Linked DNA regions of Homo sapiens: all the other regions are linked to region 6. The links are contacts of gene promoters, found by promoter capture Hi-C in blood cells and fetal thymus (Javierre and others, 2016). All regions are on one chromosome and are shown on one strand. The core of a region is centred on a gene start or on the middle of the fragment in contact, and the rest is flanking DNA. Distances in the headings are between cores, read along the strand shown. Region 1 overlaps MRPL39 (mitochondrial ribosomal protein L39). Region 2 has its middle 130 kb from the start of CYYR1. Region 3 has its middle 110 kb from the start of ADAMTS1. Region 4 overlaps LINC00158 (long intergenic non-protein coding RNA 158). Region 5 overlaps MIR155HG (MIR155 host gene). Region 6 holds the start of APP (amyloid beta precursor protein). Region 7 holds the start of JAM2 (junctional adhesion molecule 2).

Evidence for each region. The method cuts DNA at HindIII sites, captures the fragments that hold promoters and counts their contacts. A CHiCAGO score of 5 or more calls a contact.
Region 1: a contact is called between a fragment that was not itself captured here and the fragment with the promoter of APP in region 6, in 2 of 17 cell types (naive CD4 T cells and fetal thymus). The highest score is 9.2, in naive CD4 T cells.
Region 2: a contact is called between a fragment that was not itself captured here and the fragment with the promoter of APP in region 6, in 2 of 17 cell types (megakaryocytes and endothelial precursors). The highest score is 7.9, in megakaryocytes.
Region 3: a contact is called between a fragment that was not itself captured here and the fragment with the promoter of APP in region 6, in 1 of 17 cell types (endothelial precursors). The highest score is 5.0, in endothelial precursors.
Region 4: a fragment that was not itself captured here is called in contact with the fragment with the promoter of APP in region 6 in 1 of 17 cell types (naive B cells); the score reaches 7.0 in naive B cells.
Region 5: a contact is called between a fragment that was not itself captured here and the fragment with the promoter of APP in region 6, in 1 of 17 cell types (fetal thymus). The highest score is 5.8, in fetal thymus.
Region 7: the fragment with the promoter of JAM2 here is called in contact with the fragment with the promoter of APP in region 6 in 1 of 17 cell types (erythroblasts); the score reaches 5.2 in erythroblasts.

Annotation. Positions count from the first base shown.
Region 1 is chr21:25,591,483-25,595,197 of GRCh38, reverse strand. MRPL39 (mitochondrial ribosomal protein L39) reads left to right here. Exons shown (of 10, transcript NM_017446.4): 7 at 1,240-1,305; 8 at 2,233-2,386. Among named protein-coding and RNA genes, the nearest start is that of LINC00515, 10 kb to the right of the region's middle. The HindIII fragment of the contact is 925 bases long and covers 1,474-2,398 here.
Region 2 is chr21:26,700,511-26,704,040 of GRCh38, reverse strand. No RefSeq gene overlaps it. Among named protein-coding and RNA genes, the nearest start is that of CYYR1, 130 kb to the right of the region's middle. The HindIII fragment of the contact is 2,709 bases long and covers 912-3,530 here.
Region 3 is chr21:26,730,647-26,734,425 of GRCh38, reverse strand. No RefSeq gene overlaps it. Among named protein-coding and RNA genes, the nearest start is that of ADAMTS1, 110 kb to the left of the region's middle. The HindIII fragment of the contact is 2,152 bases long and covers 1,255-3,406 here.
Region 4 is chr21:25,418,506-25,422,254 of GRCh38, reverse strand. LINC00158 (long intergenic non-protein coding RNA 158) reads left to right here. Exons shown (of 5, transcript NR_024027.2): 4 at 1,455-1,547. Among named protein-coding and RNA genes, the nearest start is that of LINC00158, 11 kb to the left of the region's middle. RefSeq lists an enhancer at 510-709. The HindIII fragment of the contact is 2,988 bases long and covers 614-3,601 here.
Region 5 is chr21:25,567,958-25,571,728 of GRCh38, reverse strand. It overlaps MIR155HG (MIR155 host gene), which reads right to left. Exons shown (of 3, transcript NR_001458.3): 2 at 1,808-1,892. Among named protein-coding and RNA genes, the nearest start is that of MIR155, 4.1 kb to the left of the region's middle. RefSeq lists a silencer at 2,465-2,514. The HindIII fragment of the contact is 6,296 bases long and covers 1-3,771 here.
Region 6 is chr21:26,168,734-26,172,330 of GRCh38, reverse strand. It overlaps APP (amyloid beta precursor protein), which reads left to right and starts at 1,561. Exons shown (of 18, transcript NM_000484.4): 1 at 1,561-1,767. The coding sequence starts at 1,711. APP-DT (APP divergent transcript) reads right to left here and starts at 1,464. Exons shown (of 4, transcript NR_186396.1): 1 at 1,279-1,464. RefSeq lists silencers at 1,209-2,038, 2,539-2,808 and enhancers at 1,826-2,350, 2,849-3,058. The HindIII fragment of the contact is 2,642 bases long and covers 1,076-3,597 here.
Region 7 is chr21:25,636,826-25,640,789 of GRCh38, reverse strand. It overlaps JAM2 (junctional adhesion molecule 2), which reads right to left and starts at 1,532. Exons shown (of 10, transcript NM_021219.4): 1 at 902-1,532. The coding sequence starts at 968. RefSeq lists enhancers at 550-619, 522-1,022, 1,760-1,899 and a silencer at 1,350-1,539. The HindIII fragment of the contact is 2,383 bases long and covers 1-1,723 here.

The DNA of each region.
Region 1 (3,715 bases), core at 687-3,186, 580 kb after region 6:
CTTTGCCACATAATTGTGCATACACCTGTGGTGCACCTACACATATTACTTGTTTAGCACCCTGAGGTAAACAGACAAAGCTCTCAATAGTAAATGGTAAAGTCATGGTTTGAACCTGGGCTGTGCAGTTTCATCTGTGCCTTTAGCTATACTGACAGAATTGGGTAGATTTGAGAGATACTGGGCAGTCAAATTGACAACTTGATAATGAATTGAATAAAGGAGATATGGTAGGAGAAAGGAATCAAGGAAATCTCCCAGGTTTTTCACATGGACACCTGGGTGGTTGGTGGTATCGTACTAAGACAGGAAATTCAGGAGGAAGAACAAGTTTGGGCGGGGAAAGAGGTGGTAATTTGTGCAGTTTGCAAATTTCAGGGTAAGGTGCTTGTGGAACATCCTAGAGGATGTCCAAATGGGTCTTGGATATACAGTTTGGTGGTCAGAAGAGGTAGGTAGATTAGAAGCAGAGATATAGGACATACAACTACATAAGTTGTAGCTCAAGGGGCTGACCTAGGGAGGATGCTTAGCGTGAAAAGAGGGTGTAGGATAGAATTCTCAAAGGGTAGAGAAAGACAGGAGTGGCCAGAGATGTAAAATAACAAGCAGTAAGGAATGCCACTGATACCCATGGAAAGAGCACTTTGAGGCTGGATGTGGTGGTTCATCGCTATAATCCCAGCATTTTGGGAGACTGAGGCAGGAGGATTGCTTGACACCAGGAGTTTGAGACCAGCCTGAGCAACATGGCAAGACCCTATCTTTACCAAAAAAAGTTAGCCCGGCATGGTGGCTCACACCTGTAGTCCCAGCTACTTGGGTGGCTGAGGCAGGAGGGTCGCTTGAGCCCGAAGTTTGAGACTGCAGTGAGCTATAATTATGCCACTGCATTCCAGGGTGGGTGATAAGAGTAAGACCCTGCCTCAAAAAAAAAAAAAAAAAAAAGAACAAAGAAATAAAAATGGAAAGAAAGAACACATTGAGAAGTGGAGGTGAGCATTGGTATTAAGAAAATGAGGACCAAAAAATGTCCACTGGGTTGACACCAAGCAGGTCTGTGACTTTGTTGAGAACAGTTTGGCAGAGTCATGGGGCTGTGGCCAGATTAAAGGGAGGTTCCAAGTGTAACCTACTCTCAGAAAGTATGGCTGAAGAGGAAGAGAAAGGGAGGTATCTTTAAACACCTTTTTACATATTTTGAGTTAAAAAAATGTTTTTTTCTTTGCTGCTTTTCAGGTACAAAGTAGATTTCATAGAAGAGAAGGCATCTCAGAACCCTGAGAGAATAGTCAAGCTACACAGGTAAGTAAAAGTCTAAAAACTGGCTGCTATGTTAGAGTAAGGCTTAGCTTTATTGTTATCTGAATGAAGCATATGACCAAAAAAGATGAATTTGTGTCTTATTTTGTTCTTATTACCTTATTTTTGGTTGCTTCGTTCATTGTTTTGTTATGGTGGTAAATGGAAGCTTTAAATTATCTTCAGGAACACTTGTGGTTTCTATAATCCTCATTTTATTGTTTGCTATTTTTATTTAATTTTGAGTTGAAAACCACTGTTTAAGAATGTAATTTTTAGGTGTTTTGAAACTGGGCAAGATAGTCATTGTGATGAATTGAACATCGTAATTCATATGAATACTGACTAACTAGTAATTACTTAAGATACATGTAAGTTAAGCCAGAATGTGCTTTCTCAAGCATGGATGAGAAAGGTCCACTGCTTATGATGACGTTCTCCCATGGGGAGCAAGTCCCAAGACAATGCATTCTGCAGAAATGACTTCATGACCTGGATCCATTTTCTCAGCCTCCTGTTTTTATGAATTGGACTTCACTTTTTTCCTCTAGAAACTGCCCTTTGTTTCTGAACACAATCTGTCCTACACACTGAATTCTCAGCTTCGTTACATGGGTTATTGTAAGGTTGTAGATGATCGGTTTTAGGCAATTGGATCAGCTTGATAGCATGATGTGTTGCGTGACTCTTAAAGACCTTAAAACCTATATCAATGCTAATTAAGAAAATGGTTCATTTGATTTAATTTTCAAAGTTTTAGCCTCTTTACTTGAGATCATTATGTCAGGGGTCATTAGAAACTGAATTGAACCATATATAATGTTCTTGATTAGGGATGTTAGCAGCAAAGAGAAGGAAGAGATTTCTTTTTCAAGCTCTTACAAATTATTTGATGTTGCAGTTTTGTTTATTTATTTTTAAATCAATCAGAATAGGTGACTTCATTGATGTGAGTGAGGGCCCTCTTATTCCAAGAACAAGTATTTGTTTCCAGTATGAAGTATCAGCAGTTCACAATCTTCAACCCACCCAGCCAAGTCTCATACGAAGATTCCAGGGCGTGTCTTTACCTGTTCACTTAAGAGTAAGTAAAGCTTAAAGTTCTAGGTCTTCCAATTTGGGTATAGATATAATTCCGGACTTGATTTTATACCAGTTTGAAGAATATAAACTTTTAATTTTTCTTAAGTTATGTGACACTAATATTTTATAAACTCAGGTTTATGATTAAAAACAAAGTTGCCCAGGGTGTAAATATACAATTACAAAAGAAACATTAGTTGAAAAAATTAAATTGACATAGCATTTAAAAATTTCAAGTTAGCATAGGTGAGGGTACATTGACAGAGGGGGTATTAGAGTGCGTATTGGTAAGACTTCCTGGAATGCCTTTTAAGCTTAAATTTGGCATGCTCTTCCCTCTAATTTTAATGATCCATCATGACCCGAAGCCTGACATTTTCCACATTGCTCCCACCCCTTGCTAATCTTTTTATTTAAATTTTTGATTTTGAGATAATTGGGTTATAAGACATAGAGAGATCCCATGTACCTTTACTTGGTTTCCTCAATGGTAGCATCTTGCAGTACTAAAATACAGTATCACCACCAGGGTATGGACAGCGATACAATGAAGATACAGGACAATTCCTTCACTACGGGGATCCCTCATGTTGGCCTTTTATAGACACACGCATTTACAGCCACTTCCCTCTGTTGCCCCCATTACCCTGCCTGCTTACCCCTGCCAACTACTTATCTGTTTTCCTTTTCTATAATTTTGTCACTTCAAGAATATTGTATGAATGGGATCAAACGGTATGTAATTTTTTGGGATTGGCACTTTTCACTCAGTATAATTCTCTGGAGATTTCATCCGAGTACATTGAGTATATCAGTAGTTCATTCATTCTTATTGCTAAGTAGTATTACTTGGTCTGGATGTATCATGGTTTGTTTAACCATTCATCCATCAAAGGACATCTGAGTTATTTTCAGTCTTTGGCTATTACAAATAAAGCTGCTGTGACATTGTGTGCAGGTTTTTGTGAATATTTCTCTGGGATAAATACCCAGGAGTGCAATTGCTGGGTCATATGATAAGTGTATGTTTAGTTTTTTAAGAAACAACCAAAGTGTTCCAGAGTGACGGTACCATTTTACATTCCCACTGGCAATGTGTGAGTGATCAGTTTTTCCACATCCTCACTAGCATTTGATGCTGTCACTACTTTTTTTTTTGTTTTAGTCATTCTGATATGTTTGTAGTGATTTCTCATTGTAGTTTTAATTTGAATTTCTCTGTTGACCAATGGTATTGATCATTTTTTCATGTACTTATTTGCCATCTGTATATCTTCATTGGTGCAATGTCTGTTTATGTCTTTTGCTAGTGTTCTAATTAGATTGTTTT
Region 2 (3,530 bases), core at 1,017-3,516, 530 kb before region 6:
TAGTATTTTTCTTACTCTTCTTTGGGCTTGCTCTATATATTTAGTTAATTTGCCATTATTTAATTCTAGGCATTGTGTGAAAATGAACTTTCTATTCTATTGTTATGATTTTCAGTTATGGAATCTGAAATAAAATCGTGAATACACTACCATGTTTCAGAAATTATTAGAAATAGAAGGCAACTGCATGCCTTGAAGATTGTCTTTGTGTTGCAAGTGAGAGTTTTTACTGGCTGGTTAAAAAAAAGGCGCTAAATTATGGCATCCATTTGTATGAAGAATTGAACTGCTAACCTTGTGATGTCTTTGGCATATTCTACAGAATTGTGCTTCTTGGGAGCTGAGCTGACAACATACATATCAGTTCCCTCTTCCTCTTTTTCTAACTCCTAAAACAAGCCTGAATACTATGTAATATGGTTTGGCTGTGTCCCCACCCAAATCTCATTTTGAATTTTAGCTCCCATAATCCCCATGTGTTGTGGGGGGGACCCAGTGGGAGGTAATTGAATCACAGAGGCAGGTTTTTTCCATGCTGTTCTCATAATAGTAAATAAGTCTCATGAGATCTGCTGGTTTTATAAATGGCAGTTCCCCTGGACAAACTCTCTTGCATGCTGCCGTGTAAGCCTCTGCTCCTCCTTTGCCTTCTACCATGCTTGTGAGGTCTGCCCAGCCATGTGGAACTGTTAGTCCATTAAACCTCCTTTTCTGTATAAATTGCTCATCCTCGGGTATTTTTTCATAGCAGTATGAAAATGGACTAATATAGTAAATTGGTACTGGTAGTGGGCACTACTGTAAAGATACCCCAAAATGTGGAAAAGACTTTGGAACTGGGTAACAGGAAGAGGTTGGAACAGTTTGGAGGGCTCAGAAGAAGACAGGAAGATGCGGAAAAGTTTGAAGCTTGCTAGAGACTTGTTGAACGGCTTTGACCCAAAATTCCAGGCGGAAGTAGTCTCAGATTAAGATAAGGAACTTATTGGGGACTGGAGCTAAACTGGTTCTTGCTATGCTTTAGTAAAGAGACTGGTGGTATTTTGCCCCTCCCTGGAGATTGTGGGACTTTAAACTTGAGAGAGATTATTTAGAGTATCTGGCAGAAGAAATGTCCAAGCAGCAAAGAGTTCAAGAGTGACTTGGGTGCTGGTAAAAAGGATTCAGTTTTATGTGTTCACAAAGACATGATTTAGAAATGGAACTTAACATTTAAAAGGGAAGCAGAGGATAAGTTTGGAAAATTTGCAGCCTGATGATGTGATAAAAAAGAAAAACCCACTTTCTGAGGAGAAATTCAAGCTGGCTGCAGAAATTTGCATAAGTTATGAGGAGCCAAATGTTAATTACCAAGACAATGGGGAAAATGTCTCAAGGGCATGTCAGACACCTTCACTGCAGCCCCTCCCATCACAGGCCCAGAGCCCTAGGAGAAAAAAAATGGTTTCCTGGGCTGGGCCCTGGGCCCCCCTGCTGTGTGCAGCCTAGGGACTTACTGCCCTGTGTCCTAGCCACTCCACCCATGGCTGAAATATGCCAAGGTACAGTTCAGGCCATTCCTTCAGAGGGTGCAAGCCCCACACCTTGGCAGCTTCCATGTGATGTTGAGCCTGCAGGTGCACAGAAGTTAAGAATTGAGATTTGGGAATCTCCACCTAGATTTCAGAGGATATATGAAAATGCCTGGATGTCCAGGCAGAAGTTTGCTGCAGGGGCAGGGCCCTTATGGAGAACCTCTGCTAGGGAAGTGCAGAAGGGAAATGTGGGGTTGGAGCCCCCACAGAGAATCCCCACTGGGGTACTGCCTAGTGGAGCTGTGAGAAGAGGACTACCCAGACCCTAGAATGGTAGATCCACTGACATCTTGCACTGTGTGCCTGGAAAAGCCACGGACACTCAATGCCAGCCCATGAAAGCAGCCAAGAGGGGAGCTGTACCCTGCAAAGCCACAGGGACAGAGCTGCCCACGGCCATGGAAGCCTACCTCTTGTATCAGAATGACCCTGTATGTGAGACATGGAGTCAAAGAAGATCATTCTGGAACTTTAAGGTTTAATGACTATCCTATTTGTTTTTGGACTTGCATGGGGCCTGTAACCCCTTTGTTTTGACCAATTTCTCCCATTTGGAAAGGGTGTATTTACCCAATGCCTGTACCCCCATTGTATCTAGGGAGTAACCAACTTGCTTTTGATTTTACAGGCTCATAGGTCGAAGGGATTTGCCTTGTCTCAGATGAGACTGGACTATGGACTTTTGAGTTAATGCTAAAATAAGTTAAGACTTTGGGGAACTGTTTGGAAGGCATGATTGGTTTTGAAATATGAGGACATGAGATTTGGGAGGGGCTAGAGGTGGAATTATATGGTTTGGCTCTGTCTCCAACCAAATCTCATCTTGAATTGTAGCTCCCATAATCCCCATGTGTCATGAGAGGGGCCAGGTGGGAGGTAATTGAATCATGGGGGCGAGATATTCCCATGCTGTTCTCATGATAGTGAATAAGTCTCTTGAGATGTGATGGTTTTATAAAGGGCAGGTTCTCTGCACATGCTCTCTTGCCTGATGCCATGTAAGCATTTGCTCCTCCCTTGCCTTCCACCATGACTGTGAGGCCTCCCCAGCCATGTGGAACTGTGAGTCCATTAAACTTCTTTTCTTTATAAATTACCCAGTCTTGAGTATTTCTTCACAGCAATACGAAAATGGACTAAAACACTATGATAATTTTTTTTGTTTGAAATATAAACCATTATGAGGAATGCTAAATTAAACTTGTGAAAAGGGTAATATTGCATTTTTAACTCTATAGCATATTCAAGACAAAAGACCTAAATTTTCCATGGAGTTTCTCTACTGTTTTCACCTCAAAATAAGTCCATGGAGAGAAACTAAAACTAGTCCCATGAAAGAGAATTTTGCTTTGATAATGGCCAAACCTCTCTAAGATATGAGTTTTGTAACCCATGCTGTCCATTTCCACAATGAGTTAAGCCACCAGGGTTCCTGTTAACATACTGTATTAGTCCATTCTCACATTGCTAAACGGACTTACTTGAGACTGGGTAATTTATAATGGAAAGAGGTTTGATCGACTCACAGTTCTGCATGGCTGGGGAGGCCTCTGGAAACTTCCATTCATGGCAGAAGGGGAAGCAAACACAACCTTCTTCACATGGCAGCAGGAGAGAGATGTACTGAGAAAAGGGGGAAGCCCCTTATATTAATAAAACCATCAGATCTTATGAAAATTCATTCAGTATCACAAGAGCAGCATGAGGGAAACTAACCCCATGATTCAATTATTTGCACTTGATCCCGCCTTTCACATGTGGGGATTATTACAATTCAAGGTGATATTTCCGTGGGGACACAGAGCCAAACTATATCACATACATTGATTATTTTTTTTTTCTATGTCAGAATGTTCTGATTGTGCTACATGAAAGTCTGCATCTATAAAAATGACAGACTTTAGAAATCTCCAAGAATCTTCCCTATCAATTATCAGGTTTACAGATCAATATGCA
Region 3 (3,779 bases), core at 1,081-3,580, 560 kb before region 6:
CCTTTACCTACCCAAATCCTATAAAACGGCCCCACCCCTATCTCCCTTCACTGACTCTCTTTTTGGACTCAGCCTGCCTGCACCCAGGTGAAATAAACAGCCTTGTTGCTCACACAAAACCTGTTTGGTGGTCTCTTCACACAGACACGCGTGAAACCTGTGATTCAGATATTATTGAGAAAGAGGGGCTTCACACCTTCCCTCAAACCCTACCACAGAGTTACCAGCTCTGGTTGGCATCCCTAATAAGTGCTCTACTGTCAAGACTTTAATAAAGATTAAATTCAACTTACATTTTTTTAAAAAGAAGTAACACTCAAAGGAAGAATATATTCTGTTGTCCTATTTCACAGTAGGTTGACTATGGTTCTCAATAAGGCATTGTATATATCAATAGCCAGAAGAAAGGGTTTTGTATGTTTACACCAAAAAGAAGTGATAAATATCGGAAGTGATGAACAGTCAAATACCCTGGTTTGATAACTACACAATGTATACATGTGTTGAAATATAACATTGCTCCCCATAAATATGTACAATTATGTGTTCATTAAAAATTTTAAAAATAGTTTTCTCCCCCCCATAGCAAATTGGAGGCATTGTTAGCCTGCCTCCATGCTTCATCCCATATGGAGATGACATCACAAATTTTAAGACAGCCCATGTGGACAGACAAAATACAGAGATTCACGCTGTGAACTTTTCTCCAAGAAGCAACACGGGAACTTAGAAAAGCTGAATAAAATCACAGACCGTTTGAAAGAAGTGCTGGGCAGCAGCCTATACCATGGTCCAGGTGGAAAACTGTGAGCCTCCAGAGTGTGAAGGGGGAGAGAATGCCACCATGACAAACACTGCCATGGAAGATCCCAGCAATCCAGGCCACGGGGGGAGGCCTTAACTCTATCTAGAATTGGAACTGATTTAGTGGGTGGTGGGGAACATATGAGAAGGAGCAGCATTTGGACAGCTTTGCATGTTCTCCCAGGCCCCAGCAGGGACAGAGGGAAGCCATTCCTCACCCTATCTCACAGGGAAGATCGCAGAAGTCTGCCAGCTAACTCAGGTGGCAGTCACATTTTGAGAGAAGCTCCCAACTGAGATTTGCGATATAATCTTCAGCGGAGATGAACCCCATCGGCCAGAACTGAGGGGTAACTGGGAAGTGTGCTGTAGCCACAGGCACAGAAGCTGAGGGCCTCTGCTTCATGAATGTGGCCTGAAAGCCCAGTTTCTGTCTTGGTCAGGAAAGCTTATGGCCTGGGGCAATCTGAAGTTCTGACTGCAGGCTGCCTGGAACCCAGCAAGCTGCTGCTAGCAGAACACTGCTGATGTGAGACCTGCCTTGCCAAGTGTGTGGGAGCAGAGTGGGGCTTACCGCCACCTGCTACACTTCACTCCCCATGTGGATTCTTCTGTGCAACAGAAGCAGCTGTGCTGCTCTGTGGAACATTACCCCAGGGGCCGGGGAACTGACCTCTGATTTCCACTGGGGCAGCTGCTTGTGACTCCACATGGGAAGCCAGAGCACAGACGGCCTGACCCACCCCCGCCGGGCTTTGCTTCTCCACCTGTCCTTGTAGGGTAACACAATGGATAGAGACATTTGAAAGTTCCGTGGCCCCACACATCACTTCAAACACCAGAGCACCTCCTTGGGTAACAAAAGGCAAGCAAAAGCAAAAATTCCACTGCTGCTATCACAGCTTGTGGTCTTTCGCAGGCGCCACCTCCTGGCTAGAGGTTAAATGACACAACCCAATACAATATCAGCCGGTTCCGTTAACATCATGCTCACAAAGGAGAAAACTTCTGTGCAACCCCAGTTTGAATAGAGACTAACATGACTGTGGTCACACTGGCTAACCAGGAGGTGTTGAATCTGTCTACATGACCAGTACAGCTGGCATTTGTGAAGGCCACAACACTAAGGCTATTTATAACCAAGGAATCTCACAGAATCTACATGACTCCTCTCTCACCCCTATCAGATCTGGTGCTGGGAGACTTGAAGGACAGGTCACATCACTCGATCCCTTGTAGACATTCCCAGCATCAAAGTATGGCAGCCCCACTGGGTGGTTAGACCCAGAGGAGCAGCAGGAGTCACAGTAGGCTGGTGCTCAGGGACTGCTACTCCTAGAAAAAGAGGGAATGTACCACATTAAGGGAGCATTCCATGGGACAAAAGAAACCACACTTCAGGCCTTGGGTCCCTACCTTTTCACTGTGGAAAGTTTCTTTCAGCAGTCACAGCAGCAGTGCTGGACTCAGTGTGGAAAGTTTGTGGGGTCTACCTCAACGGTTAGGCAGCCCTGGTGCTCATGAACAGTCTTGGAGAAGGGGACTTTGTGATGGTTAATACTGTGTGTCAACATGATTGGACTGAAGGAAGCAAATTATTGCTCCTGGGTGTGTCTGTGAGGGTGTTGCCATAAGAGATTAACCTTTGAGTTAGTGGACTGGGAGAGGCAGACCCACCCTCAATCTAGGTGGGCTCCATCTAATCAGCCGCCAATGCAGCTAGAATAAAGCAGGCAGGAGAAGGTGGAAGGAGCTGACTTGCTGAGTCTTCCGGTCTTCATCTTTCTCCTGTGCTGGATGCTTCCTTCCCTCAAACATTAGACTGCAAGTTCTGCTTTTGGACTCTTAGACTTACACTAGTGGTTTGCCAGGGCCCTCAGGCCTTCAACAACAGACTGAAGGCCACACTGTCGGCTTCCCTACTTTTGAGGTTTTGGGACTTGGACTGATCCACCACTGGCTTCCTTGCTCCTCAACTTGCAGATGACCTATCATGGGACTTTACCTTGTGATCATGTGGGTCAATTCTCCCTAATAAACTCCCTTTCTTATATACATATATCCTATTAGTTCTGCTTCTTTAGAGAACCCTAATACTGATTTCTTCTCCCCCGCGTCTGCCACTCCAGACATAGCTGAATGTCTCCCATGGGAGCTTAGCATGGGTGCATCCGTAGACAGCCTTTCTGGAACACTGCAGGATGCATCCCCACAGTAGGAGCGCCCTTGATTCAGGCTTGGCTTGCACAAGACGTAGAGTCACCATCCCTGTCTACATGAAGCAGATAAAGAGGTGTTTGTCTAATCTGAGTAGCTGGAACATGGGGTCAAGAGTGTAACTGGGATGAATTTCCTGAAGGGGAGGTATGGTGGCTTTCTCCCTTCCTTCTGAAAAGACCTCAGTGCATTTCACTGAGAGATTCCCCAGCTGGGACCTCTGGTCACCACTGGGGTATTGAACTTACCCATCTGCTTTATCCTTGGCCAGTTTTTCCTCATGGGCACCTCCTAATGGCCCAAAGCCTGAACTGTTCAACCCAGTGAGTAAAACAGTGGGGAAAACATTTATAAAAGTGCACACCACTGGGAAATGAGATAAGCTTCCTGAGACCTCTGCCACTTCAGCCCCACAGGAGACAGTGAATCTGCTCACACATCCAGCATATCATTACTAAATCCTCATCAGAGCAATTCATCACACAAAGATTTTCTACAACTGAAAACTCACACAAAGTCTTCACCACTGAAAACACCTACAGCCAAAGGTAGATGACAACAGCTTATAAATGTTAAAGTCTCATCCTCAAGGGGGAACAAAAATTTAAAACCCAGTCAAATAAAAAGTAAATTCAAAAATAATTAGAAAAAAAGTAAGTAAATGAGAAGGAACAAGAAAAATGATTCTGGCAATATGAAAAAATCGGGTTCTATATCAGCCCCAAATATCACATTTACTCCCAACAGTGGAGCCAAAC
Region 4 (3,749 bases), core at 858-3,357, 750 kb after region 6:
ATCAGTTCCAAAAGTTGGAGGAACATTTCAGTTAGACAGGAAGAATAAGTTCAAGAGATCTATTATATATCATGATGACTATAATTAATAACAATATACTGTATACTTGAAAATTACTGAGTGTGAGGTAATGCATATGTTAATTTGTTTGATTTAGCCATTCCACAATGTACACATAAAATTAAACCACGTTGTACACCATAAATATATAAAATTTTTATTTGTCAATTCAAAAACAGTTGGAAGAAACAAACGAGAAAAACAGAAGCACACAGCATGGTGGTTTGCTTTTTACTACGGTCTTTTTCATGTTCTTCTATGCACCTGTAACGCCCCCTTCAGGCATTTGTGTTCCACTTTCTAGGCTGGGCTCAGGGAGCCATCTCTGCCTTTTTCTAGTGCCTTGTGTCTGTGTATGTACCTCTCTCATCCTCACTATGCTATTAAAATCGATCTCTTTATATGTCTGTTTCTATCAGTGAATTACACACTTCTTGAGGGTGGTGACAGATATTATCTTTCAACCCTACTCATCATGATGCAATTGAAAAGTGGATGAGTTGATTTGCTGAAGGTTGAATTCTTGCAGGAGGCATGATGAAGAAGAAAAGCTTCACTTCTCTGGAGACAGGAAGTCTGAATTCTACTCTGTGGCTGCCACTTACAAGTACATAGGAACTGAAAACAAGGACACCATGTGAACTTGTATGGCCACTTTCAACGCTGAGCAGTGGCAGATGCTTTTGGTACTTTGCATCTCTTCCTCTCGGCCCCTTACTGATTTCAGCCACTGTGTCAGTGGACAATCTCTCAGAGTTCAGAGACTCATCTCTTGCTGGCAGCTATCTCCTGTTTTCCTGGGATTTGGCTCAGGAAAGAGGACACTGGAAGAGGCAGGGATTTTTGTCCTTGGGCAATCATTAACCAAGGACAATGGGAAGCTGTTGGAGAAAATTTTCAGCCTCTTGTCTTTGGCCAGAAGTGGGAGAGGTGGAAGGGGATGACTGCAGGGCGTTTGGTTTGCTTCTCAGAGGGCCCGGCAGAAAAAACCCACATTTATAACACAGCCTTATGTTTCCTTTCCTTCTTCTCACTCTTCTGCTCATTTATTTCAGCTTCCTGATATCTCCTTCCAAATAAACCACTTGCCCCCAAGTCTAAGTCCTTGTCTTAGGCTCTGCTATGGGGAAGACTCAAACCAAGACACCAGCCTAAGCGGCAGGGTTCTTAAGTGGTAACCTAATAAGGCCAGTACTTTTCTGTTTTGTTTCCACATAACACGTAATATGATTTTCCTCCCAGCCTGTGCATGCATTTTCTCATTGATGGTTAGGTCCAGCCAAGGACAACTTGACGGACTATTTTTTTTTTAATTGTCATTGTCTTAGAATATCTTCCCTCTATTTACTAGGCAAGATTTATGTAATTTTTGTATTTGTCTCATTTGTTGACAGGGAACCCTGAGCAGAACACATGCACAAACTCATGCCATACCCTAAGGGACAAGGTTCCCCACATCTACTTGGAAATCTTTGGGATGCTCAATGGTAAGTACTGTAAGTTGCAAGATTTCAAAAATATTCAGGAAGAAGAAATTTGTGAGCCAAGTAGCTCCAAGTCATTCAGCCTTCTGAGGTTACGCTGTCCTTTCAAATACAAATTCAATAAATGAGCCCTTCTTCCACAAATTCAATAAGTGATGCAGTTGACTAATACCCTTTCTCGTATTTCCCTGAGTCAATGAGTGAAAAGAAGTGGGTACAAGATGCTCTTGGCTTATATATTCTCCCATTTGACAAACTTCCTAGTATCCATTTCCTATATCACTTTCTTTAGCTCTGGAGCTATTATCCTCCTGGTACCTGTCTCCTGCCTATACCAATTCATTCCAAGCCAGAAAGGAGTACCTTTCCTTCAAAACCTTCTGTATCATTAACTCAGGGCTGTAACAGAGAATTTACTTTACCTGAAGGTTTGGTCATGTAGCACAAATAAGGAAACGACCTCAAATAGAATAAGTGAATCACCTTTCCTAAGTTCATTAGCCATTTCTGCTTTAGGGGACTGATATTTTTTATGCTTTTTTTTTTTTTTTTGGCTCCTGGCCTGCTACTATTTTTGTGGGTCTGCTCTCTTGTGCCACAGTCTTTTCCCCCTTTTCTTCAAGTCCTTAAATTCACCTCCCACCCATTTCAGACAAAACCTTTTTACAACACACATTATTACTGCATGTGGAACTTACCGATCATTTGTTAAATGGAACAATTTAGCTATTTAGCTTCCTTTGTGTCAACCTTCTCATTCCAGACTCTGCCCTAGACATTGCCTTTTGTAACAAAAAGTCCCAATAAAATGTTCTCTCAAACAAACTGCGGGTTGGCAATGCACATTTAACAATATAAGGATTGGCAGAAACTTTGAAAATCACAGCTCTTCTTTAACTGTTTAAAGATAAAATTCTTAGGTGGTCTCCAGGTCGAAGCATTACTCATGACTGCTCTGTCAGGGGCTTTGTTAGAGGAAGCAGGATGGTGGCAGAGTTCTTTGCTCCTTCTCGGGACATAAAATCTGCGGGTCAGAGTGGCCCCACCTGCCTCCCTCTCTTCCACAGTCAAACACAGCCTAGACTGCCTGATTTGGGGTGCAGTCCTACTGACAGCTCCACTTTATGTCTCTGGTGGATTTCTCAGGTTTGCATCATGGTCAGGGACCAGAATAAAAGAAAGTGAACTGGGAAATTTTTAGGGTCAGAAAAGGAGTTTTAAACTCATACACACTTTATCAAAATCTTTTTTTTTGAGACAGAGTCTCACTCTGTCGCCCAGGCAGGAGTGCAGTGGCACGATCTTGGCTCACTGCAAGCTCCGCCTCCTGGGTTCGAGTGATTCTCCTGCCTCAGCCTCCTGAGTAGCTGGAACTACAGGCATGTGCCACCACATCTGGCTAATTTTTGTATTTTTAGTAGAGATGGGGTTTCACCATGTTGGCCAGGCTGATCTCGAACTCCTGACCTCAAGTGATCCGCCCGCCTCAGCCTCCCAAAGTGCTGGGATTACAGGCATGAGCCATCGTGCCCGGCCAAAATCTCTTTTCTTGAGTTGGGCTTATGGTGTGGCACTGACTGCTGTTGGACTGCTGCATCACGAGGCTAATAGAGCTTTTCTAAAATTCAGCAATCCAGGCTCTAGCTTCTGAGGATGTGTGGGGTGGGAAATGCAGGGAGCTAGTATTGCTGAGATCTTCAGACTCTCTCTGAATACTTTTCCTAGACCCAATCTCTTTCTCCCTCCTTTCTGAGACTAATCAGTGACACAGATATTAGATATTTGGTGATTGTCCCATAGGTCCCTGAGGCTCTGTTCAGTTTTTTCCCAGTCGATTTGCTCTTTGTTGTTCAAATTGGAAAAGTCCTATTCTACAACTTCACTGATCCTTTTTTCCTCTCCATTCTGCTGTTGAGACTATCCATTAATTTTTTTAAGGTATAGTATTTTTCAATTATAAAATTTCCATTTGGGTCTTCTTTATATCTTCTATCTCTTCACTGAGACTTTCTGTTTTTCGTTTGTCTCAAACACATTCATAAGTGTTTATTGAAGCTTTTTTATAATTGCTGTTTTAAAATTATTGTTAGATATTCCTGGCCTTTGTGTCATTTTGGTGTTGGTGTTTGTTGATTATCTTTTCTCATTTATGTTGAGATTTTCCCAGTTCCTAGTATAAGAGATTTTTGATAGAAACCTGGACAT
Region 5 (3,771 bases), core at 66-2,565, 600 kb after region 6:
TTTATATGAATTATATATTAGAAATTAGACTGGGGTCTTTGACTAGGTAGTTCTGCAGATATACTTCCAGTCCCCTCACTCCACAATACTTCTTAGGCCTACCACATGAAATATCCATTGTCAGTATAAGTTTTACTGTGTAGCATAGGTTCCAAGTTAAATGTTCTTAACAAATTACTACACACTGTCTGAGTATCAAAATCATTCCTTCTCACAGTAGGTAAAAATCTACCAAGAGGAAGCACTATGTATACTAGATTAATGATAACACCAAGGATCTTTCATTATATGACAGGCAATTCTTCCTCTGGTGCTAAGAATGAAGCTGAAGGTGGCACTTTGGGAAATTTTTCCTTAAATTATGCTTTCCTGAAGGACAATTTTTTTGGGGGGGGTGGAGTGTGAGCATAAGATTTAAGAATATCTGGCTGGGTGTGGTGTCTCATGCCTGTAATCCTAGCATTTTGGGAGGCCGAGGTGGGCGGATCATGAGGTCAGGAGTTTGAGACCAGCGTGACCAACATGGTAAAACCCCGTCTCTACTAAAAATACAAAAAAATTAGCTAGGCGTGGTGGCGCACGCCTATAATCCCAGCTACTCAGGAGGCTGAGGCAGGAGGATCACTTGAACCTGGGAGGCAGAAGGTAGTAGTGAGCCGAGATTGTGCCACTGCACTCCAGCCTGGGCAACAGAGCAAGACTCTGTCTCCAAAGAAAAAAAAAGATTTCAGAATATCCTTTTATTCTTACCTTGTTGATTTGCCAGGAAAGACGTTATCAAAACTATATATTCAGAGCATAATATGTCCTAAGTTTGTCATTAAAGTTCTGGTTTTCCTTCAAAAATTTTTTATTGTGGTGAAATATGTAATGTAAACATAATGTAAGTTTAACATCTTCACCATTTTTAAGTGTACAGGTCCGCTATATTAAACACTTAGTCATAATGTTCTACAACTATCATTATCATCCATCTCCATAACTCTTTATCTTGTAAGGATCTCATTTTATGTCTAAATCATAGGTTATATTCTTCTACAATTATATATATTTCTATATTGCTGCTTATTCTCAGCACCAACCATTTAATATTTGCATACCAAAGGAACTGCACACCATAAAGTTTTCTTTAAAAAAAGTTACAGTGGTCGAATTTCATAACCAAAGCGATTGTGGGATAGCTCTAATTTTATTTACCTTGAAATATACAAATAATTTAAAACTATTAATTTGTTGTTACAAATCAACTGTACATCTATTTTTACTGAAAGTCATCTTATATTGATGTAGCAATACAAATTCTAGGTCCAAAGCCATTTTAGTAGGTGAAATGGAATGTAATTATGTTGTTGAAAATTAAAGTGATTTAGTTTAGGTAACTTTCTCTGCATATTTTCCCACTTTAACATTTATGTGTACCAATCAAAAACATAATCATTAAGATGGAATAATGTTGATTCCTATTTGGATCAGTTTGCTAAAAGCAATTAGCATATACTTGTATATGTGGAAACAGTATCTGCCTTTTCTATCAGAATTTATTCTGATTCTCTATATTCTGCCGCTGCAGTTTTGGTTTACATCATGGAAGTAAGCAGTGATTAATGCAAGTGTATAAAAATCAGGATTCTGTGAAACTTTGGACTTGTCATAATCTTTAGAATAACAACGATTTCTTGGTTACCTTTTGAGGTAGAATCAAAAGTTGAAAGCGGCTGCCAACTTGGTGCCCCAATGACCTGCCTTTATAAAAACTGCATCTGTCAGCGTGTTTCCCTTCCCTTTTACTTAAGATAGAATTCCTTACCATTAGAGCCATCTCCATTGGGTGGGAGAGCCAAGGTGACAGGTAAGGTCTCTGGTAGGTTGTTCTTGAAATGCAGACAAGTTATCTGGGGAAAAAGGGTTGGGGTTGAAGTTGACACATCACCTTAGATGTGTTTATTAGGTTAGTTAGTCATCTTTGAAAGCAGAGGTGAAGGGCTGAGGAGAGAGGACCCGGGATAGGTGGATTTTAATGGGAATAAAGAGTAATTTAGAGGAAAGATAAGGATGTACCCCAAATAGTTTGATAGCTCAATAGTTTTTTATTTATAATTTAAGCTCACACTTTTCATGTCCAGCATAAAGCAGCAACAAATTAAGTATTTAGACTATCATCTGAGTTTTAGTTCTCTGAGTTTCAACCTCTCTACATGCTGTAAAATGTCATATAAAGTGTTTAATTTCTCAGAAATTCTTCAGGAAGACTTGCAATGTTCTCTGACAAAAAGAAAATCCAAATGACTGCCTTTCTAAAGTGTATTCATTTGTGTAAAGTTTATCACATATTTTCTGTAGAATATGATTCTGTGTTACATCTCAATAACTGACATTAAAGATGAGTCAACTTCTCTGCTACCAGGGAATGAGGTAAAGAGTATTATGTTTCCTCTTGACTTCACATGAGTTCCATCATTAACAAGGGATTGATGGTGTGACTTACTACTGATTGAGATGGTGGCCAACTGGCGTCACATCTTCTGAAGTACACAAACTCATCTTTAAAGGTAAAAATGGATTGTTCTGTAGGAATAACTTATATCCTGAAATCTTGGTGAATGATAAGATTACCACTTTTCAGATCATTAACTTTACATATAAGAAAAATTCCCTGAGTAAGCCATTGCTGGGGGAAAAATTATAAACTTTTCATGTCATGATACTTTATTTATTTCCATAAAAACTTAACATCACTTCTTGATATTTTCTAATTGAGAGCTCTTTATTGAAAAATAGCAACTTTCTAAATTAAGAGCTCCTTATTGAAAATAGCAGTTTGTGCACACAATAGCATAACATTCTTTTCTGTATTTTGAGAATTAAGAAAATAAATGTTTTTAAAGATATATGCCAATAGTGATATTTAACACATAAAGGTGTGATGTATTTTTGAAGTGTCTTAGAAGAAAGCCAATGTGGATATTGCAGGGTCACTGTGGAAATGTGTATCAGTGACCGTTTAGTTGTAAATGCACAAAAGAGAAAGAATGTCAGCCTTAGAGGATTATCCTGCTTTTCCCAATTTTAGAACCAGGAAGTTTTTACTGAAATGGCTTTGTGGAACTTACTTACAAGCTAAGTAACCTTCCCAGTAGTTTTATTATGGACAGTAATTAGTGCTTTCGCTTTTCTGATGAAGATGTGTAAAAAAAAACAGGTTAGGAATTTCCTCTCCCCCACCAGACTCATTCTGTGGAATAAGCAGAAGCAGGACGACAGCCAGCTGGAGTCTGACTGCAGGGACTCGCTTCCTCAACACCCTGACCTCACACTGGCTCAGCGGAAGGTCTGAACTGTGCTGAAATGTTATAGAACAAATGTGAATAAAGCTGTGGGTAGGGAGGGGAGAGCTAGTGGGAGAGATACATTCTGTTGCTTTAAGTGATGGCCATTCTTTCTTATTTCTTGTTTCCACAAAACGTTTTCCATTTGCCTAACAAACTTCTTAATATATTTCCATAAGAGAATTTTAATACTTTTTTAAATTTATAATTTGATTTTGATGTCTTTTCTCCCTACTCCCAGGGAACAGAAAATAGGGTAGCTGTTATTGCTCTGGAGTGTTTTGTCACCCTTCCATGACGCCTCCTCTGTGCATTTGAGTTCACTGTTTATGCTCAACACTGAATTTCAACAAAATGCCTCATTTGGAACTTATTATGTGTTACCTGTTTGTTTTTTGTATCCGTTTGCCTCTATCATAGGAAAAAATTGCTTTTCTATTTCTGT
Region 6 (3,597 bases), core at 312-2,811:
CAACTGGGTTTGTCCTGTCACTTTAGGCTTTTCCCTGCTGTCCCAGCTTCATGTCACTTACTTGCTATTAGATTTGGGAGTTCATTAGCTTCATTTTCCTGATGTATAAATAGGAATAATAGTAACAGCCTCTTTGGCTTTTGTAGGAAGTAAATGACATGAAGCGTATAAACAAATACTGCATGACAATAAATATTTGTCCTTATTTGTTGAGGACATCCAAAGGACATTCAGGGGCAAAAGTAATCCAAGAGTCAAGACTGAATGCCTAGTGCGGGAAAAGACACACAAGACAACATTTAGGGGAGCTGGTACAGAAATGACTTCCCAGGAAGGAAGTCTGTACCCCGCTGGCTGAGCCATCCTTCCCGGGCCTAGGCACCCTTGTCAGCGCAATGAGCAAGGGAGAGAAGGCAGGCTGCAGTGCAGCCCTCAGAAGGGCCAGAGCACTCCCTGGCTTCAGTCCTTCGCTCCAAGCCCTGTGTGGAGTGGGCTGTGGCTTGGTAACTAAATGCTACTTCAGGTCAAGAGCAGGGGATATATCTGGGCAGTTCTAGAGCATTCTAAACTATCTGGACACTAACTGGACAGTGGACGGTTTGTGTTTAATCCAGGAGAAAGTGGCATGGCAGAAGGTTCATTTCTATAATTCAGGACAGACACAATGAAGAACAAGGGCAGCGTTTGAGGTCAGAAGTCCTCATTTACGGGGGTCGAATACGAATGATCTCTCCTAATTTTTCCTTCTTCCCCAACTCAGATGGATGTTACATCCCTGCTTAACAACAAAAAAAGACCCCCCGCCCCGCAAAATCCACACTGACCACCCCCTTTAACAAAACAAAACCAAAAACAAACAAAAATATAAGAAAGAAACAAAACCCAAGCCCAGAACCCTGCTTTCAAGAAGAAGTAAATGGGTTGGCCGCTTCTTTGCCAGGTCCTGCGCCTTGCTCCTTTGGTTCGTTCTAAAGATAGAAATTCCAGGTTGCTCGTGCCTGCTTTTGACGTTGGGGGTTAAAAAATGAGGTTTTGCTGTCTCAACAAGCAAAGAAAATCCTATTTCCTTTAAGCTTCACTCGTTCTCATTCTCTTCCAGAAACGCCTGCCCCACCTCTCCAAACCGAGAGAAAAAACGAAATGCGGATAAAAACGCACCCTAGCAGCAGTCCTTTATACGACACCCCCGGGAGGCCTGCGGGGTCGGATGATTCAAGCTCACGGGGACGAGCAGGAGCGCTCTCGACTTTTCTAGAGCCTCAGCGTCCTAGGACTCACCTTTCCCTGATCCTGCACCGTCCCTCTCCTGGCCCCAGACTCTCCCTCCCACTGTTCACGAAGCCCAGGTGGGCCGTCGGCCGGGGAGCGGAGGGGGCGCGTGGGGTGCAGGCGGCGCCAAGGGCGCGTGCACCTGTGGGCGCGGGGCGCGAGGGCCCCTCCCGGCGCGAGCGGGCGCAGTTCCCCGGCGGCGCCGCTAGGGGTCTCTCTCGGGTGCCGAGCGGGGTGGGCCGGATCAGCTGACTCGCCTGGCTCTGAGCCCCGCCGCCGCGCTCGGGCTCCGTCAGTTTCCTCGGCAGCGGTAGGCGAGAGCACGCGGAGGAGCGTGCGCGGGGGCCCCGGGAGACGGCGGCGGTGGCGGCGCGGGCAGAGCAAGGACGCGGCGGATCCCACTCGCACAGCAGCGCACTCGGTGCCCCGCGCAGGGTCGCGATGCTGCCCGGTTTGGCACTGCTCCTGCTGGCCGCCTGGACGGCTCGGGCGCTGGAGGTGGGTGCCGCGCCTCGGAAGGCGGGGGGAGGCTGCACGGTGGGGACGCGATACCCCCCAAGACCTTAACCCAAGTCTTTAATGCAGAGAAGCCGGGGGTCCGTCAATGGGACCCCTCTCCTCTCCGCCCCCGCTTGCGGACGTCCAGCGCATCCCCGCTTTCGGCCCAGCCCTGCCCCAGGGAGTCGCGCTCCGGCCCGCTGAGAGGGAGCGGGCGAGGCGCTGGTCTCCCTGGTTCCGCGCCAGCCCGGGGCGAGAAGGGTAGGGGGCGACCCTGAGCCCAGACCCCGACTTAGTCCCTGCCTTGGAAGCGGGGGTCGGGGGAGGCGAGAGACATTCAGACAGGGGGGAAGGGGGAAGGAGCACGTGGGGAAAACCGAAAACGCAGCGTCCCTAAAGCCAGTCCTTCGCTCTTGAATCGTTGCCCTTTCCTTTCTCTTGGGCCCTGGGGAGGAGGAGGAGGAGTCGGGACAGCCCAGGAAGCTAGGAGCCCCTCGCTTTTCCCTGCGTTCTCCGCCTCGTTTCACCTTCCTCTCTCACCCCCATCCCCCTTCCTTGCTCCAACCTCTTTTCGCGGCTGCTGGCGGCGGCAGCCTGGGTGCGACCCTAGCCCGAGCCGGCGTCGGGGTCGCGCACCGCCTTCCACAGGCAAACTTTGTGCATGTCCGCGTCTCCCTTTTGTGTAACTTGCGAGAAATGGGAGGGGTCGGAGACCCATAGCCACCCCGCGCCTTCCCCAAGTCTGGACGTCCCGGGAGTTCGCTCGCACCCTAAGCTCTGTCTGAGAGGCAGAAGGTCCGCGGGAACAAAAGCCGCGACACCCCGCCCTCGCCGTGGGCCGAGCCGCGTTAGTCTCAGTGCGCCACCGAGGCTCCCGCCCGGCTCCCTTCCCGGGGCTGCGCGTCCGCCTGGGAGGGGGCAGAGACGCTGCCGGGGCTTCTGGCGGAGCCTCGGGGCCCCTCTGCTTCCCACCCTCGGATCACCTCCGAGGCTTAATTCTGTGCTGGGCTGTAAAGTCCTTGGCGGGGAGGAAATAAGGCGGAGAGTGGGATGTGCGTCTGGAAAGGGCAGTGGCGGATGGTGGGGAGGCACGGGCTCTGTCCTGTGCATCCAAGGAGGCGTTTGTCTGATTAAGGCGCGGCCTCTTCCCTGGCAGCTCTGGGGACTCTGGTTTAGTTCCCCTGGGGGCACAGGATGCTGGGGAGGGTCCGAAGGGTCTTTTTTTTAGGGTGCAGATAAAAGGATCGAATTGAGTGAAGATTAAGACGGAGAAGATGGCGCCTCTGCAGTGCAGCAAAGAAAAGCTGTGTGGAGGCTGCAGCCTAGTGAAATCCACCCACCACTAGGTGTATAACAAGTCTTCCCCATTCATCCAACTCTCGAACATTCAGCTAACGCCTGTGCACAATGACTGTTTTTCTTTACATCTGAAGATGCTTAGAAGTTGTTTGCATGACAGTTGGGCCAGAGGAGGCTGTATTTCACTTCGGACTTCGGTTGGGTTCCTGTTTGGCATCTTAACATTTGCAACCTTCCTTACCCGTTTTTCCCCTCTTTTCCCCCAGCCTCCTAGTAATTTTCCAAAAGAAAAAAAGCAATTTCCGGGCAGATGTTTTCCTGTAATTCCACTGAGGCTGTACAGACTATCACACCATTAGTTTTTTAGTTTCTAATTTGCAAGGTCATTGAACTTTTTTCTCTTCTGATTTTTACCCACAAGTGGCTCAGGAATCACCTTAGGGCTAGTTAAGACAGGTTGTTTTAAGAGTTAAAGAATTTCGTTTTCCATGTTTTAAAAAAATGCACTTAACTAAGAGAATTCTGATTTCT
Region 7 (3,964 bases), core at 283-2,782, 530 kb after region 6:
AGGAAGGAAGGAAGGGAAAAAAGCAAAACAAAAAAGGTGAGAGAAAAAAGAAAAAGCAAAAGTAGAACTGCATTGCTTAGTCTATTGTAATTTCCTCCATTTTCCTAAAAAGTTAACGCGAAGAAAACAAAATAACGGCAACGTTCCCAGGATTTCAAATCTCATGAGTCCAGAATCCGTGAAAATCCTGTTTAAAATCATCCGGTGAAATTGGCTTTGGGACGTCTCCCCAGCTACTGGATCATGTGGCTTCTGAATCTTTCTAACAATCGTCCCGTTGGATGTCCCCTGAGGACAGAGCAGCTGGCTAGAGTCCCCAGACCAGACTTCTCTAAGTGAATGTAGATGTGCAGGTGGAGAGGATAAAAGTAATTCTGGCTCAGCAGCCACGAATTCCCTCCACCTCCGCCCCACAAGTGCGCTGCATATCGCCGGCTCAGCTGGGACGCTACAGAGCCCAGACCACGCGGACGCTGCCCCCTCCCCGGGGACTCAAAGTGTGGCCGGCGCCCGCCTCCCAGTGATGCCATCTTTCTTGGGGTCTTAGCATCTTACCAGTGGGTAGTGAGTTTTGCATTCGAATCACGTCCCTCTGTCTGAAAACTTACCCCAACTTTGCAAACAGATGAGAACCTGCTAGTGGGAACCCTTAATTTTCTGTATCTAGAACTGACAAAATCAGACGCAATTCACAAGAAACCCACGACCTCGCGCTCCCTTGCTCCCAGCGTCCGCTCGCGGGCACCCTGGGTTTCCCGCTCGCCTGGGCGCAAGGTCAGACGCCCCGCGGCGACCTCGGCCCAGAGCCGCCCAGACACTGTCAGCCAGCGCCCCGTGGGGGGCTGGAGGGTGGGGGCAGGCTGGTCCAGGCAGGAAGGGTAGAGGAACCCGAGCAACTTACAGCCCAGGGCGACCACCAGGTAGCGCAGCAGCAGCAGGAGGAGGCGGTGGCGGCTCCTCCTCGCCATCTTCCCGGGGCGGCAGCCGGCTGCTCTGAGGAGGTCGAGGGTCCCGGCGGCAGGAGCGCAGGAGGCCGGGGGCCCTTGAACTTCTGGGGCGGGAAAGGAGCAGAGAGTCGGGAGGGGAGGAAGAGGAGGGACGGCTCTAGATGGGATGTCAGTTTCCCCCTCCCCGGGGCGCCTTCTCAGCTGGCTGCCAAGAGGCGGGTCCTCCAGCCCAGGGATGGGGGTCTGTTCTGTTTTGGGGGTGTGGGGGTAGGGGCTAGAGGGCGTGAAAACCAGACGAGGCGTCCGCCGGGTCCTAGCGAGGGGGCAGCAGGAGGAGAGCAGCGCCCGGGAAAGCCCCGGCGGGTCGTCCCTCCGCCCCCACGCCTCCGGGATTGATCGGCTTTGTGTCTGGTCCGCGCGGGGCTGCCAGCTGTCCCCAGGGCGAGGAGCTGGGGGCGGGAGGCGCGGGCAGGCTGGGGGTGGGGGGATTGGGTGTCTCGGGGACGGGGATGTATGCGGGTAGGGAAACGCCTCCTGTTTTGCCCCAACTCCTTTCTTCCCCTCGTTGGCTCAAAACTTCTTTCTGGCTTTTCAGCCTAGGGGTGGAGATATTTGGAAAATTCTGCCCAACGGGCGAAGCTGAGGGGGTGGCGCTCTGAGGAGATGGGGTTCGCGGGCTCCGCCTCGAACTCGAGAAAAAAAAAAGCAATCAAGACTCGTGCTGGAAGTCAGGTCTCAGATTTTAGTACAGCCTTGGTCCCTTCTCAGTTTAAGCTTTTTGCTCCTTGGAGATTTGAGGTGCATTTGTCTCGCGTTCTTGTTCTTTGCTTTTTTTTCAGTGTCAGAGTTGGAAGTTCATCTAATGGTGTGAAATATTTATCATGTTTCTTTCAAGTTACATAACTGCTGCTTGTGGAGTTTTCCACGTGTTAAAACTCTACAGCTGCCCTTTGTCAGGTTTATTTTTGGTCTACTGTGCTTTTAAAAGGGAAACCCATTATGAATGCTCTGTTGCGTGCTTTAAAATTGCACCACACTTACATTGGACGCACGTACACTGGCAATTTTTATATTTGTTCCTAGGGACCAAAAATGTATGGTGTATTCAAGAGTATTGGCAGGTCTGGAAAAAGGCCATTCCCAGGAGAAGAAATTAGTATACATCAGTTTTTTTCTTTTGTTTTTTTGTTTGTTTTTGTTTTTGTTTTTTTTTAAAGGTTGAATAATGGATGAAGTTCTGTACAGCAGATAGTTGATTTAGTGGTGTATTTAAAAAGAATTCAGCTAGCTCAGTGGACAAAGGCGACCAGAGTTTAGCTGTGCAGAACTGTGAGGAATGAGGCATCCTTGCTGTTGCCGTGGTGACAGTGATGAAAACTTAGTACCCAGGGAGGGGGTGGGAGGAGAGGACCCAGGGGACCCAGAAAGGAAAGTCAAAATGGCAAAATGTTAAAACTCGTACTCCAGTCAACCGAGGAGAAGGGGCACAGATTTAACAACAGCTTATGCCAGTTTTTCTGGGCAGTAATGAGAAGGATTTGATGCTTAAAAAGAAAAGTTGTTGGCATCTTCTTTTTTCTAATTCTTGCTACAGCTATATGTCTTTTACTCCTCCCTAAAAATATACACAAAAATGTCATACTTAAAAAAATTCTATGCAATCCTATGTGAGTAACTGACTAAGTTATTTATTTGCCACCCAGCCAAGGCATTTGACAAATGGCAACAATGTGCTGGATGCTGAAGGACAACCATGAACAAGATAGAGGCTTTCTTGCTAACAAGCTCACAGTCTTGAGGGGAGACAGAGTCTTATCAGGAAAGATGCCTGATACCACATGGTAAATGTTACAGGAGGACAGAAAATAATAACAGCTATTTTTATTGCATGCTTTCTCAGTGATGGAGTCTGAATAACGCAATATCTAATCCCCCAACAACTCCATAAAAGAGGAAATGTTATCATTCCCACTTTGCAGATGAGAAAACTGGGCGGAGAGACACTAAATGGCTTGTCCAAGGTCCATGATAAGGGGCTGTTCCTTTTGTTGGGAGTGGGGCCAGGGCTTTCTTTATTAAACCTTGAAAAATGGGTCAAATTCTGAAGGGAAGGACATAAAGGAGAGGCATTCTACATAGAGGAAACAGCAGGATCCAGAGCTAGGAGATTGAAAAATTATGGTTTATTTAGAAAAAGCAAGGTTCTACAGTACTAAAGTGTATGTGGGATCGGGATAGTGAGGTAGGTGGTGGTGGTGGTAGAAACTGAAGGGGAGGTTAGAGTACGAAGAGCATTCACGCTACTGTCTAGACCTCATCCTACAGCTAATGAGCTTTTTGAAAGCAATGAGATAAGAAAAGACTCATATTTTAGAACTGTGGTGTCCAATATGGTAGCCTATAGATCTAAGTGGCTATATACATTTTTTTTGTTTTGTTTTTAATTTGAGACAGAGTCTCACTTTGTCACACAGGCTGGAGTACAGTGGTGCAATCTCAGCTCACTGCAACCTCCGCCTCCCAGGTTCAAGTGATTCTCCTGCCTCAGCCTCCTCAGTCCAGTAGATGGGACTACAGGCATGTGCCACCATGCAGGCTAATTTTTGTATTTTTTGTAGAGATGGGGTTTCGCCATGTTTGCCAGGCTGGTCTCGAACTTCTGACCTCAGATGATCCACACGCCTTGGCCTCCCAAAGTGCTGGAATTACAGGTGTGAGCCACCATGCCTGGCTGGCTATATAAATTTGAATTCAATTATATGTAAAATGCAGTTCTCCACTGACACTGATCACATATGAATTTCTCAATAGTCACATGAGGGTAGGGGCTACCATATTGGAAAATGTATTTCCATCATTGCAGGAAGTTCTACAAGAGAGTGCTGCTCTAGAATGATGACTCATATTGAAATGTGCAGGATGGATTACAGAAAAGAGAATCAGGGTGTTAGTCAAGTCTAAACTATTACAATATCCTGAGAAAGAGACCAAGTTGTGAAGTAAATGGTCACCGTGTG